Regions from separate parts of the Homo sapiens genome. Here regions 1 and 2 are each linked to region 3. The links are contacts of gene promoters, found by promoter capture Hi-C in blood cells and fetal thymus (Javierre and others, 2016). All regions are on one chromosome and are shown on one strand. The core of a region is centred on a gene start or on the middle of the fragment in contact, and the rest is flanking DNA. Distances in the headings are between cores, read along the strand shown.

Region 1 (4,121 bases), core at 528-3,027, 3.2 Mb before region 3:
CAGAAGGAGCAGTTTTTTAAGCCAGTGAGCTTTACAGTGGGGGAAGGGGCAGAATGGGGAAGTCCTTTATTCTGAGCTCTTAAGCATGCCAGGAGCAGATGCCTGATTTTACTGTGTGGCACTTTGTGGCCCAGAAACTTTCCAGATTCTGTATTTTCCTATCTGGTTAAATGTAACTGTATTTACCTGTGTTTCAAAGCCTGAATGCTTTATTTATTCTCTACTTAATTTTCTTTTCCAGTTTTTCCTAACAAGCTTCCCTAGATTTACTTGTTCTCACTTCCTAGACGCTATTTGTATTCTTCCTTCTTCTCTAGTTCATTGGAAATTTCTGCTTCTTTGAGACTGAGGTTATATTCCACTTCTTCTGACTACACCACCACCATCAATCTCCTTCTCTGAACTCTTGGATCATTACTTCAACCTGAAACAACTCATCAGGTATCTATAAAGGTGGTTATTTGAGTTCCTGTTTTTAGGATTCCAAAATGATGCCAAGATATGTAAAATGAAATGTTAATTGCATTTTTTTTGAGGGGGTTAGAACTATGTAAGTCCCAAAAGAGACAAAGAGTTTAGCTCAAAGCTATCAGATGTTGGAATCAGAAGTTTGGCTTAGGTTAATAAAATGTTTTGCTGTTTAATTTACAAAATTTTTCAAGATCAGGTCCCTGGAGGGAAAATAGCAAAAGGAATTCCTGATAGAGAAAAGTTGCAAACCACTAATTGTGTATAGATTTGGTATTTTGTTATGTGTAGTAAAGTGGTTGAGAGTATGATCTTTGAAGTCAGGCAGACCTGGGTTTGCCACTTTCTATCTGTATAACTCTGTACTTTGCATTATCTTTGGGAGTCTTGGTTTCTCACCTAGAAAGTGAGTCAAGGCAAATAATTTACTCAGCACAATGCCTGCCATATAGTAAATGTTCAGTGTTATCATTATTGTTGTTGCATCTTATTTGCTCTTTTTTGTGGTTTATGTCCTGTGTTAGGCAGAATAGTTGCCTACTGCCCCAACCCCACCAAATGTTCCAGCACCTCTGATATTACCTCACATGGCAAGAGGGCTTTGAAGATGTGATTGAGTCAAGGATCTTGAATGGGGAGATTATCCTGAATTATTCAGCTGGACCCAGTGTAATCACAAAGGTTTTTCAAAGATGGAAGAGAGGCAGAAGAGCCAGAAAAGGATATGTGACAATGGAGTCAGTGTCAGAGTTGGAGTGACGTGATGTGAGAAGGATTCAACCTGCTGTTTCTGGCTTTGAGGATGAAAGAAGGGGCCATGAGCCAAGCAATACAGGTGGCTTCTTTCAAGAAGTTGGAAAAGGTAAGGAAATGGGTTCTCACCTAGAACTGCTGGAAAGCAACCCAGCCCTACTGACACCATGATTTTAGCTCAGTGAGACTCTGTCCAGATTTCTGACCTCTAGAACTATAAGATAATAAATTTGCATTGTTTTAAGCCACTAAGTTTGTGGTAATTTGATAAAGCATCAACAAAAAATGAACACTTCTTCCCAGCAGGACTCCTTTTGAAGACCAGTTCTGTATACATCATCGTATCCAGTGTAAGTACTGGATGTAAATATGGATCAATAATTTGGAATTTACTGAGGTTTCCAGTGGTGAGGCACAATAACTTGTAATTTGCAATTTTTTGTAGTGGAGAAGAGATAACCATGAGTCAGCTCTCTTTCTGCATACACATTTCCATTGCAGCACAAGTTAAAGATACTGGAGAAATTCCCCATCTCACTACCAAGGACAGACCTAACTGACAATAAATTCATCTATAGCCCAGTCAGGGTTTTCCCCTCATTGTCCCTGCCTTCCACAATTGCAGCTAGTTTTCAAAAAGATACATAAAAATAGCTACCATGAATTTAGCACATGGTATGTGCCAGGAGTTATGCTAAATGCTCTGCGTATGTTATCTTACTTAATCCTCCAAAATTTTCCATGGTGGTAAAAATAAATGTTTCTTGTTTTCAAACTTCAGGTCATGACTCTCAGTGGATTTTGAAATCAATTTTGTAGGGAGTGATCAGTAGTTATTAAACAATAAAATAGAATATGAAATATCATTGCATTTCAGGAAGTAAGAGTAGGCATAGCTTCATCAAATTTTGGTTTCAATTATATATATATCTTATCATGTCTATAAAATAAACACATATGTGTATGTACTGGGTTGTGTTACAGAACATATTTCTTACAATGAGTCCTAGTAAAAATTACTTTTTTTTTTTTTTGAGACGGAGTTTTGCTCTTGTTGCCCAGGCTGGAGTGCATTGTGCGATCTCGGCTCACTGCAGCCTCCACCTCCCAGGTTCAAGCGATTCTCCTGCCTCAGCCTCCTGAGTAGCTGGAATTACAGACATGTGCCACCACGCCTAGATAATTTTTTTTTTTTTTTTTTTTGTAGAGACGGGATTTCTCCATGTTGGTCAGGCTGGTCTCGAACTCCTGACCTCAGGTGATCTGCCCACCCCAGCCTCCCAAAGTGCTGGGATTACATGTGTGAGCCACCACACCCAGCCCTTAAAAAATTACTTCTTGGAGTGGGTTGTATTTAAATTTTTTAAAAACCACCAATGAAGTGGTTAAGAATATAGGCTTTAGCAACAGGGCTACCTGAGTTTATTCTCAGTTCTTTATTTTACCAGCTCTGTGATCTTGAGTATATTACTTACTGTTTTTACCTCAGTTACCTCATTTATAGGATCCTATCTCATAGGGACTTTTGAGGAGTAAATGAATTCATTCAAGTTAAGCACTTTGAACAGTGCCTTAGTAATTAACAATTAGCTAATGTTACTTTCCCAATGTTATGTGGGTTAGTAAGTGGTAAAACCTACCAGATTCCCATTCTGTCTGACAAAGTCTAGTCTCTTAGCTACTGTGTGTCGCTGCCTGAGTGTGAAATCTAAAGCAATTTTACAGTAATTTATGTGGCCCCTCAAAACAAACAAATCAACAAAATTAAAAAGTCTCCCTTTATAATAAATGGTACCAGTACATGAAAATACTGGGGATGCCTTTTTCTCAGGGACTTGGCTGATTTGGCATAACCTTATCTCTGAGGGAAAACAAGTTTTGTGACTTGTTCCACTCTGAATTTCAAGAGAGGAATATGTGGAAGGTACTGAGTGCTTTTGACATATAGAGAACAAAGCGATGACTCACTTAAACCCTGATAGTAGGGGCACCATATAAATTATTATATCTAAAGGGAGTCAGGTCAAAGAAGAAATCTTGCAAGAATCTGGAGGGAGATCTGTTGTCTAAAAGCTTATTAGGTGACTAGGGTATCGGTTTTGCTAGTGTTTGTTTTTATCTTGTTTTTTCCCTTCCTCAGTTCCAGCAGGCATTTTAGTGATCTCTTGAAACACGTTTTGACTCTACTTGGTGATTGAAATACACAGCCAGGCTGTGTTGCTTTTATAAGCTCTGAAAGTTTAAGAATTTAGGAAGCTAATGACTGTCTTAAATTACAGTTAAATCTAATTGATAAAATCCTGGGACATTGAACGATTGATTTTAGTATTCAGCTAATAACCCATTTAAAATGAATTCCATACTTCTTTCAACTTGCTTGACTGAAGAGTAATTTTGTCGCTAGTTACTGTATTACTGGAAAATGTATTCCTAGGCTTTAAGATTTGGGAAGCGTGTGAGTCTAACTTCTCAAACAGAATTTGACAAGGACGTAGCAGTGTTTTAAAAAGTCAGGGAAAGGAAAGAGGTGTGTTCAGCATTCCTGCCCCATCTTAACATATTCTTTTTCTCGTCTTAACAGTGGTAATATTTTATGTTATTTTGGTTTGATTTTTGTTTGTGGCATATGGCTCTGCTGTCCTGTGACTCTAAGTAGAAGAGAAAATAGTGCCAATAATTCTTCATGGAGATGCACCTCTCTCAAGTCTTGAACAATGTTTGAGGTAGGTGGTGGCCTAAATGAATGAGCATGTCATGTGTGATTACTTAGTGAGTGTAGTTTTGTAAGGCGCACCAAGGAACTGGTAATTAACTGCTAGGCATGAGATTACCCCAAGATTCTACAAACCCACCTAAGCGTTGTTATATTTGTGAAAAGATTAGAGGAGCTGAACTGTGTA
Region 2 (4,099 bases), core at 1,574-4,073, 3.3 Mb before region 3:
AAATGATTTCAAGGAAATTAAAGGGAAGGCTAAAGTTGGGAAATTGTGAATTGTTTAATGCACTCCTTTTATGTAATATAAAAGGAGTGAAGGTGAATAAGACAGGTTAGGGACATATCTCAGTCTTAAAGCCTGGTTAGGGTGGTGAAACTTCACTTAGCAGTCACTAAGTGATTGACGGTTTGTTTGCTTTTTTTAACATACAGAATACACACTGGAAACTTTTTTTTTTTTTAACAGACCAGATCTTGCTATGTCGCCCAGACTGGCCCTCCCTACTCTGCCTCTTGAGTAGCTGGGACTACAGGGGTGTGCCAATGTACCTGGTGTGACTGAAAGTTTTTGAGTTGGGGAATGACAGTAGAATACAATTTTAAGATGATCAATTTGGCAACAAGATGTAGGATTAGTAGAAAGTGGTAGAGTTTGAAAGTCAGGTGTTAGGAGATTTTAATACCAGTTAATACATGAACCTAAAACTACAAAGGTAGCAGTGGAAATGGAAAGAAAAACACTAAGTGAATAGAATGCCCGCGTTGTAGTGACTGACTGTAGGGGGTTAAAAAAAAAATGAAAAGGAATTGGAGATGTCATTATTTTTTTACCCTGAGTGACTGGATGTTGGCTGCAGCAATGACAGAAATAGAAATGTTTCCAGGAGAAGCCTATTAGGTAAGTAATGATGATAAGTTAGTTCTTACACCTCCCAAGCTCTGAATGAATGGCTGTTGAAATATGAATAGCAACAGACATTCTAGACCAGACTAAGAGGACTACTTTTAAAAACAAACAAAAAAACAAAGCAAAAGAATCTTCGTCATTTATTTTTTGAATAGGTCATATATTTATATGTCTTAAAATTCAAGAGTAACAAGAAGGCATAAAGTGAAAAGCTTCTCTCATTCTCTGTCCTTCAATCACTTAATACTCCAACTGCTAGGAAACCAGTATCAGTTTGTGAGACCCATTTTAATTAAATGTTTATTCCCTAGATGGAAATAGTTCCATATCTGCCCCAAGAGATTTAGGCCAACAATAGAGGATGACCCTGAAGATTCCTGGATACTAAGAACAATAGAGAGTGCATGCTGCAGAAGTCTCAGTGACACTTCACACACTCTTTCCTCCTCCCATTAAGAGGCATTCTTCTTTCCACTGTGACCCTATTACATGTCAGTCACTTTATATGCACTAGCATCTTAAGATCACCCTCTAAACATAGTTTCATTAGCTCCACTTTATAAATGAGGGCACTAAGGCTCAGAAAAATTAATACTTTTCTAATGGTCACACTAATAAGTGGCAGGGTTGGCGTCAGATTTGAATTGCAATCATGGGACATTAAAGCCTGCATTCTTTCTACCCTATTGCTTGATCAAAGAATATAGTAGGAAAGTTCTTGAAGGTAGATTTTTGGCAAGATTGAGTGAGTGGGAAATTTTTTTTAAAGCCAAAAGATTTTAAAAATTGATTTTTACATTTTGAAAATAAAGGTGTAAAGTACAGCTTCCATAGTCACATCACCAAAATTAACTCAAAAATTTAATCAGAAAAGTTATGTCATCTACAGGGTATTTGAACAACCAATTGGACTCATTACTCATAAGGGGTGGGAAGATTGTTGGGGAAGGTCCACTCATCGGATAGAAGTCAGGTTATGGAGACTGATTCACCAGTCATTAAAATAAGAGCATGTAACATTGCATAAACTTATTTTTTTTCAGGTCATCCCAAAGAACAATGCAAACATTGTTCTCCATAGTCCGAGAAACACATGTATTTATTATTCGTATTTTATAAGTGAGGAAAGAGACACCAGTGAGTCAACTGCATAGCCTCATCTAATGCTCAGACTACATAAATACTGCAATGATAAGATCTTAAGTAACAAATTGGAGAAAAGAATGTGATGCAGTAAATGCCAGAGTGTTTCGCTGGTCTTATGGCTTCCTCGAAGACAGAATTAATTTCCTACCCAATTCAGTGAAGAATTTTAGACTATGAAAATTGTTCATGAGTATGGGAAGGAAACTCCCTCTTCACTTCTTGGTCCCCAAACTGCACAAAGCTTAGATAAATCAAAATCCTGAGAAGCAGCACCCAAAGTGGGAGGATCAATTGGCTTTTCAATACCTAATGGGTCCATCAGTGCTACATTTCCATATAGTGTTTGCATAACTGGTTCTAACATATATCCACCCTCTCTAACCAACCACCACCCTTAAAAGTTGACTACAGACACATATACACACTTGTCCAGCACTTGCTCCACAGAATATAAGGCCTGGAGTAAACAGACACCACACCTTGTATATCACTGAATCTGGATTATGATAGACAAGAAGTGGAAACAAGCTCTAGAAGTGTCCCAAATCTCCTGTGCCATTTAGGCCATCGAAGCCTGACAGTGAGAGACAATGAAGAAAAGCCACAGGCAGGTGAAAATCCAGTAACTTTGGCAGGGCGGAAGCTGAGGAATTTATCTGATGCTGGATACTCACAGCTTCTGGCCAATCAGGCATCGGGGATGACGTATTTTCACATTAGATATAGGAGGAGGAGAAGAGAATGTTGTAATCATGGATGTTAACTCACTAAGAACTGAATGCTGGGCCTAGTTAAATCCCTGTAGGAAGTAAAATACACAAGACTAGTGACCCATTGACTAATACACAGTCACAGGTCTATGGCACGCGGTTGTAATGTTCTTCTGAAAACAGAAACTAATGCTAACCTTCCCTTAAAACCTGTACAAACCAATAAGTGAAAGCCATTTACAATTTCTGGCCATTTAACAGTCTTTTGGTTCAATTTATTGTGGCAAAAATAGCACACATTTCCTCTACTTAATCTTCCCTGTGAGAGAAACTGAGACTGGGAGAAACTGAACTGCTAGTATTGAGTTTGATATAAAACGTTCCTGACAACACATAATAAACCAAAACCAAAATAAAAACAATAAGAAGCAAAACATCCTTGATTCTAAAGCAGTGCGGTCCAATAAACATATAATGTGAACACCACCACATACAATTTAAAATTTTCTCGTGGCCACATAAAGTAAAAAGAAACACATAAAATGAATTTTAATCTTATATTTAACCCAAGATATCAAAAATGTTATTTCAGCATATAATCAATAAACAAATAATAAAATATTATAAGTTCTTTTTTTAATAAATACTAAGCATTCGAACTCTGGTATTTTACACTTAGGTCACACTTCAATTCGGACGGGCACATTTCAAGTGCTCAATAGCCACCTGTGGCTAAGAGCTACCTACTGGACAGTGCAGCCCTACAGCCCAATTTCAAAAATAAGGAAAAAACAAAGCAAACAAAACCCACACCCACTATATATAAACACACATCAATTTCAGTAAACCCAGCGTTTAGAGTTAGGCAGTGATTGCTGATTTTTGGAGTACGGAGCCAGAACGCCTAGGAGTAAGAGGGAAGGAGAGAAAGGGTAATGGAGAGATGTGTGGAGGAATGCAACTGCTGCATCTCCAGAGAAGCCTGTGCTCCCTACGGTGCCAGAGCTTGAAGGGTGGGTGCTCCCTATCTCCCAAGCTTGAAGGGCTCCCTAGAGGTGACGAGGTGAGGCCGGCCCCAAGCGGTCACTGCCATTTGGGCTCTAGAGCCCGCTTGTCAGGGGGCTTGAGGGGATGCAGGAGTTGAGGGCTCTTCCAGGGAACCCCAGTGACTGCCTACCTGTCGAGCAGCGGAGTGTGGATGTGCAGGTGCTTCACGGCCACCTGGACGCGCCAGTCTGCGTGGCGGGCGGACGACACAGTGCCAGAGGCGCCGCGGCTCAGGTAGCGCAGGTCGGCGAGTTTGTGGTAGGGAATGGTGGGCAGGGCGCTGCAGATGGCCTCCCCGTTCATGGTCCCGGGCGCTCAGGCCGGTTCCGGGTGTGCCCCCTGCTGCGGCGGCTCCCAAGGCTCCCACGCCGCGCTCAGGCGCCCAGATACGCCCCTGCACGAGCGAGGCCGGCAAGACCCTTTTTGCCCCGCAACACTAGGTCACGAGGGCGCCCATTCCCCGGATGGCCCACGCCAGCCGCTGCTTCTCCGAACCAGAGCTGACTTCTTTTCTA
Region 3 (4,170 bases), core at 680-3,179:
ATGTTGCAGTCAGATATTGGCCAAGGCTGCAATCATCTGATGGCCTGACGGGCTGAAGGAGTTCTTCAGCCCAAAAGTTCAATTGTGCCAAGGCTGAGAAACCCTGCTTTAAACCGATGGGACTATACATTTAAAAAATACTAATGTCGTGAAAGACCAAGGCTGACGATTTAAAGATTTAAAGAAAGTAGAAACATAACAAATGCAAGACATTATCAAGATTTGATCTTGAATTTAGAAAAAAAAATCATTAGTATAAAGGACAGTATTGGGAATTAAACAAAATTTGTATATTAAATAATAGTATTCTGTCAATTTCAGTTTCCTGAATTTGATAATTAAACTGGGACTAAGTAAGGGAATGTCTTGTTTCTAAGACTGAAGAGTCATGATATCTGTAATCTACTCTCAAAAGGCCTTACAACAGAAAATACTAGGAATATAATATGTGTATTATAGGTAAGATATGTAAAGAAAGATAAAGCAAATGTGAGAAAAAGGTAACAATGGCTGAATCTAGCTGAAGAATATATGGGAGTTCCTGCAACTTTTCTTAGGATCTAATTTTTTTTTCAAAGCTAAAAACTTAATTACAAATTCACTCTAGCAGAGATATCAGAAACTTAATTTCACTGTTATCATGGTATCCAGTGGCATAAACATTTAGCAATGTTGAGGGGGTAGCTGCCAGTAGAAATGCATAAAATAAAAGTGATTCTGTCTTTGGGAAAAAACAGCTAGGTTTCAGAAGTTGGGAAGGAGATCTATATATTTTTAAAGATAGACTTTAAAGACATAATCCTAAAGAAATACAGCTGATTTAATGGGACTAGTGGAGGTAGCAATCATATAGTAGAAGGAGCACTGGACTCAGAGTAGAAAGACATGGATTCCTGTCTTCTAACATATCCTTGGTTAGGTTAATACATCTCTTTGAGTTACAGTTTTTTCATTTGTAAACCTGGGATACCACTTACTTCACAAGGTAGTTCGGAAGATCAATACGACTATGTATTAATTCCCTATACAGTATTAAAAGTACCATAGAAATGCAACCTAATTTTTTAAAACCATGACTCGCCTCCCTTATTACCCATAAGATTTTTCGTTAAACCCATATAGTAGGTACTCCCTTTGCAGTCTGTGTTTCCACCCACCCTGATCAGGCCTCAAGTAGGATCCAAAATTTCTTCATTTTCCCACAAAAGAATTCCACTCGAGCAAGAAATTTTATTTTACTCGAGTAAAATAAAATACTTTGCTCGAGTAAGTAAAACATCTTATTGAAGAATTTTAGGGGAGACCAGGGTTTGTTTTTGTTTCTGTTTTTTACTACACATGCCCTAGCATTCAAGGGCATCAGTATCCTTTCCAGAGGCCTCCTCCCGCTAGTTCCTCTTCCCAAAACGCTTTGCATTTTTTGTTTCTTTGCTCTGGACTCTCTCTTGAATCTACCCCCTTGAGTCGCTCAGTCGAAGAGACTGAGACTTTCCCTTCTTCATGTTGGGCAACATAATTCTTCCAATTATTTACTTCCAAAAAAGACCCACTAGTACCAAGATTCAATCTACTTTTGAAGGCAGCAGATAATTAAAATGACAATTTTTTTTCTGGCATACTTGTATTCTCGGGTCTATTTCCGAGCTTTCAGTTCTATTCTGGCGACGAATCCTTGTGCCCAAACCATGAAAGACCCCCTAGAGAGATGGAGCAGAAACAAGTCAGAGCGCCTGAAGAGAGCGCTCTCACGGCCTCAGTCCTGGACGCAGGCGCGGAAAGTCCATTAAGTCCCACCCAATCGGGGTATTTCCCACCCCCTAAGCCCGTGCACCGGAAACCATGGGGGCGGAAGAGGTGCTGGGCAGGAGGCGGAAGAGGTGCTGTGCAGGAGGCGGGCGGGCGCGGTTCTTTCCGGAAGGATTGAATCTCCTTTAGCCCCGCCCGCCTCCGTAGCTGCCTGAAGTAGTGCAGGGTCAGCCCGCAAGTTGCAGGTCATGGCGCTGGCTGCTCGACTGTGGCGCCTTCTGCCTTTCCGACGTGGAGCCGCCCCGGGGTCTCGTCTCCCTGCGGGGACTTCGGGCAGCCGCGGGCATTGCGGCCCCTGTCGATTCCGCGGCTTCGAGGTACCCCCGTGGTCCTGGCTCCCGCTCCTCACTTCCTACTCAGTGGGTTCCGGCTCCCCCTTAACTTAAGTGGTGGCGGCCCCGCGCTGCCTAAGGAATGTGGTGAACCGAGGAAAGAACTCGGGGCCACTGTGCCTGGAACGCCCGGACAGGTCCCTTCCATTTTGCAAACCTCCACTATCCTTAACTGGGGCTGTCAGAGAAGGAGTGGGGTTTGCCCCCACGCGCCCCAGAAGCTGCCTGCTACCCGCCCTTCTTGTGCGAAATGTAAAACAGGACGGGAAAGAACCTTGACCGCTGTGAAATTATTCTCCCTGTAGGCGATGACAGATACAACAGCGCTTGAGGCTGCCCCTTTCAGACTTTGAAAAGTGTGGTGTGTGATTTAAAAAGTTCTACGACTCAGAAGCAGAGATTTCATACTGTTTAGGTTTTTGTTTAAAAATGTTTATTTCTCAGTTGCCCGTTGTATCTGCATAACGTCAATGAAGGTTGTCGGCATGTTGTAGTCTCAGTTCTGGTATTTCTATTAGACTGCTCGTGGGCCTCTGTTTATTCTTGTCAGGGAATTGGAATGGCATTAATGCATATGATATATTTCACATGAACTAGGGGTTTCATTATTTTAAACTCAAATTTTTAACTGCTCAGTTAAAATCTTTCAGAATTATTATGGGACTGATGGTGGGGAGGGGTGGTTAAAATTTGGCATATTCCCCTTCCTTGGAAGTTTATAACCAAATGGGGAGGTTATAGATAATATAGGCAGAGAGATGGGAGGAGTTCTAAGTATGAAACTAGTTAGCCGTAAGTTTTCAAATTGGAACAATGATGAGTTTGAAGTCCCATTTTAGGCCTGGCCCCTTGGCTCAGCCTGTAATCCCAGCACTTTGGGAAGCCGAGGCGGAAGGATTGCTTGAGTCCAGGGGTTTGAAACCAGCCTGGGCAACACAGTGAGACCCTGTCTCTACAAAAAAATTTAAAAGTTAGCCATGTACATTTTTATATGTAGTAATTACTATATATGATAATCTTGTCTGTAAGATTCATTTTTATTATGTGTTGGTGTCTCATATTTTACTTCATACAATTTGCAATATCCATGCATTTGCAAATAAGTTGTAGCAAATAAGTTGTAGCTCTTCCTTTCCAGCAGGAGTGTGATTTTTAGATGAGCGGCGACTCCAGGGGATATCTTTTTCTCAATAAGATACGCTTTGAGATAGTTTTACTAAAGATTTTGATGAAGTAATTTTTAAGCTTCCAGTATTATGATCGATTGCTTTGGGGGTGGGAGAAAATTCATGTAATTTTTGCTTGGGGTAGCAGTACCTTCAAATTTTCAAAGTTTGTAACTCTTAACATAATTGTTTCCATAGGTAATGGGAAACCCAGGAACTTTCAAAAGAGGCCTTTTACTCTCAGCTTTGTCGTATTTGGGTTTTGAAACTTACCAGGTTATCTCTCAGGCTGCTGTGGTTCATGCCACAGCCAAAGGTAAGCATAAATTAGATATATGGAACATTTAGAGTTTTTTTGTGTGCGTACATTCAGAATTTTTATTTTAAAACAAAGAATCAGGGTAATGTTAATAATAGAAAATCCATATGGAAATATTCACAATCTGCTCAGTGAGAAATGGGAAAACAACTTCCCTGCCTAACTGCCAACCTACTGTTTGAGGAGCCAGAAGTTGACGTGAAGTTGGAAGAAGGTCACCTTTTCCAGCTAAACCCCACTCCATAGCTATGTGCATTTTTATTTGAAGTCTCCGTGACCAGAGGAAACAGTGAGAACTGAGAACCAAGATACCGTTATCAGCAAGGGTTTGGCTAAAGGGTCTGAGATGTGTAAGCACCAAGAAGGGGAAGGGAAATTGAGCAACATATGAAAAAGGGGCTGTAGGAACACAGAAAAAATAAGTCAACAATAACCTATTTCCATCCAGAGCAAAGGGACAGTGCACACATATTCATCCTCTCAAGTGTGGGCTACACTGTACATTGACTCATACTATCTCGAACATGGTCTGTTGGAAAGATTGAGA

The links. Contacts are between HindIII fragments. The CHiCAGO score rates a contact against its expected background, and 5 or more counts as called.
Region 1: a fragment that was not itself captured here is called in contact with the fragment with the promoter of RMDN1 in region 3 in 1 of 17 cell types (total B cells); the score reaches 5.8 in total B cells.
Region 2: a contact is called between a fragment that was not itself captured here and the fragment with the promoter of RMDN1 in region 3, in 1 of 17 cell types (total B cells). The highest score is 5.6, in total B cells.

The regions. Positions count from the first base shown.
Region 1 is chr8:89,721,838-89,725,958 of GRCh38, reverse strand. PARAIL (palmitic acid regulated anti-inflammatory lncRNA) reads left to right here. Exons shown (of 5, transcript NR_125822.1): 2 at 318-441; 3 at 993-1,330; 4 at 3,803-3,944. Among named protein-coding and RNA genes, the nearest start is that of PARAIL, 34 kb to the left of the region's middle. RefSeq lists enhancers at 1-50, 81-130, 1-255. The HindIII fragment of the contact is 3,039 bases long and covers 258-3,296 here.
Region 2 is chr8:89,757,849-89,761,947 of GRCh38, reverse strand. It overlaps RIPK2 (receptor interacting serine/threonine kinase 2), which reads right to left. Exons shown (of 11, transcript NM_003821.6): 1 at 3,715-4,099. The coding sequence starts at 3,887. Among named protein-coding and RNA genes, the nearest start is that of RIPK2, 2.1 kb to the right of the region's middle. RefSeq lists enhancers at 2,289-2,378, 3,657-3,726. The HindIII fragment of the contact is 1,505 bases long and covers 2,071-3,575 here.
Region 3 is chr8:86,506,445-86,510,614 of GRCh38, reverse strand. It overlaps RMDN1 (regulator of microtubule dynamics 1), which reads left to right and starts at 1,929. Exons shown (of 10, transcript NM_016033.3): 1 at 1,929-2,123; 2 at 3,503-3,620. The coding sequence starts at 1,995. It also overlaps the pseudogene SLC2A3P4. RefSeq lists an enhancer at 2,015-2,184. The HindIII fragment of the contact is 14,106 bases long and covers 1-3,385 here.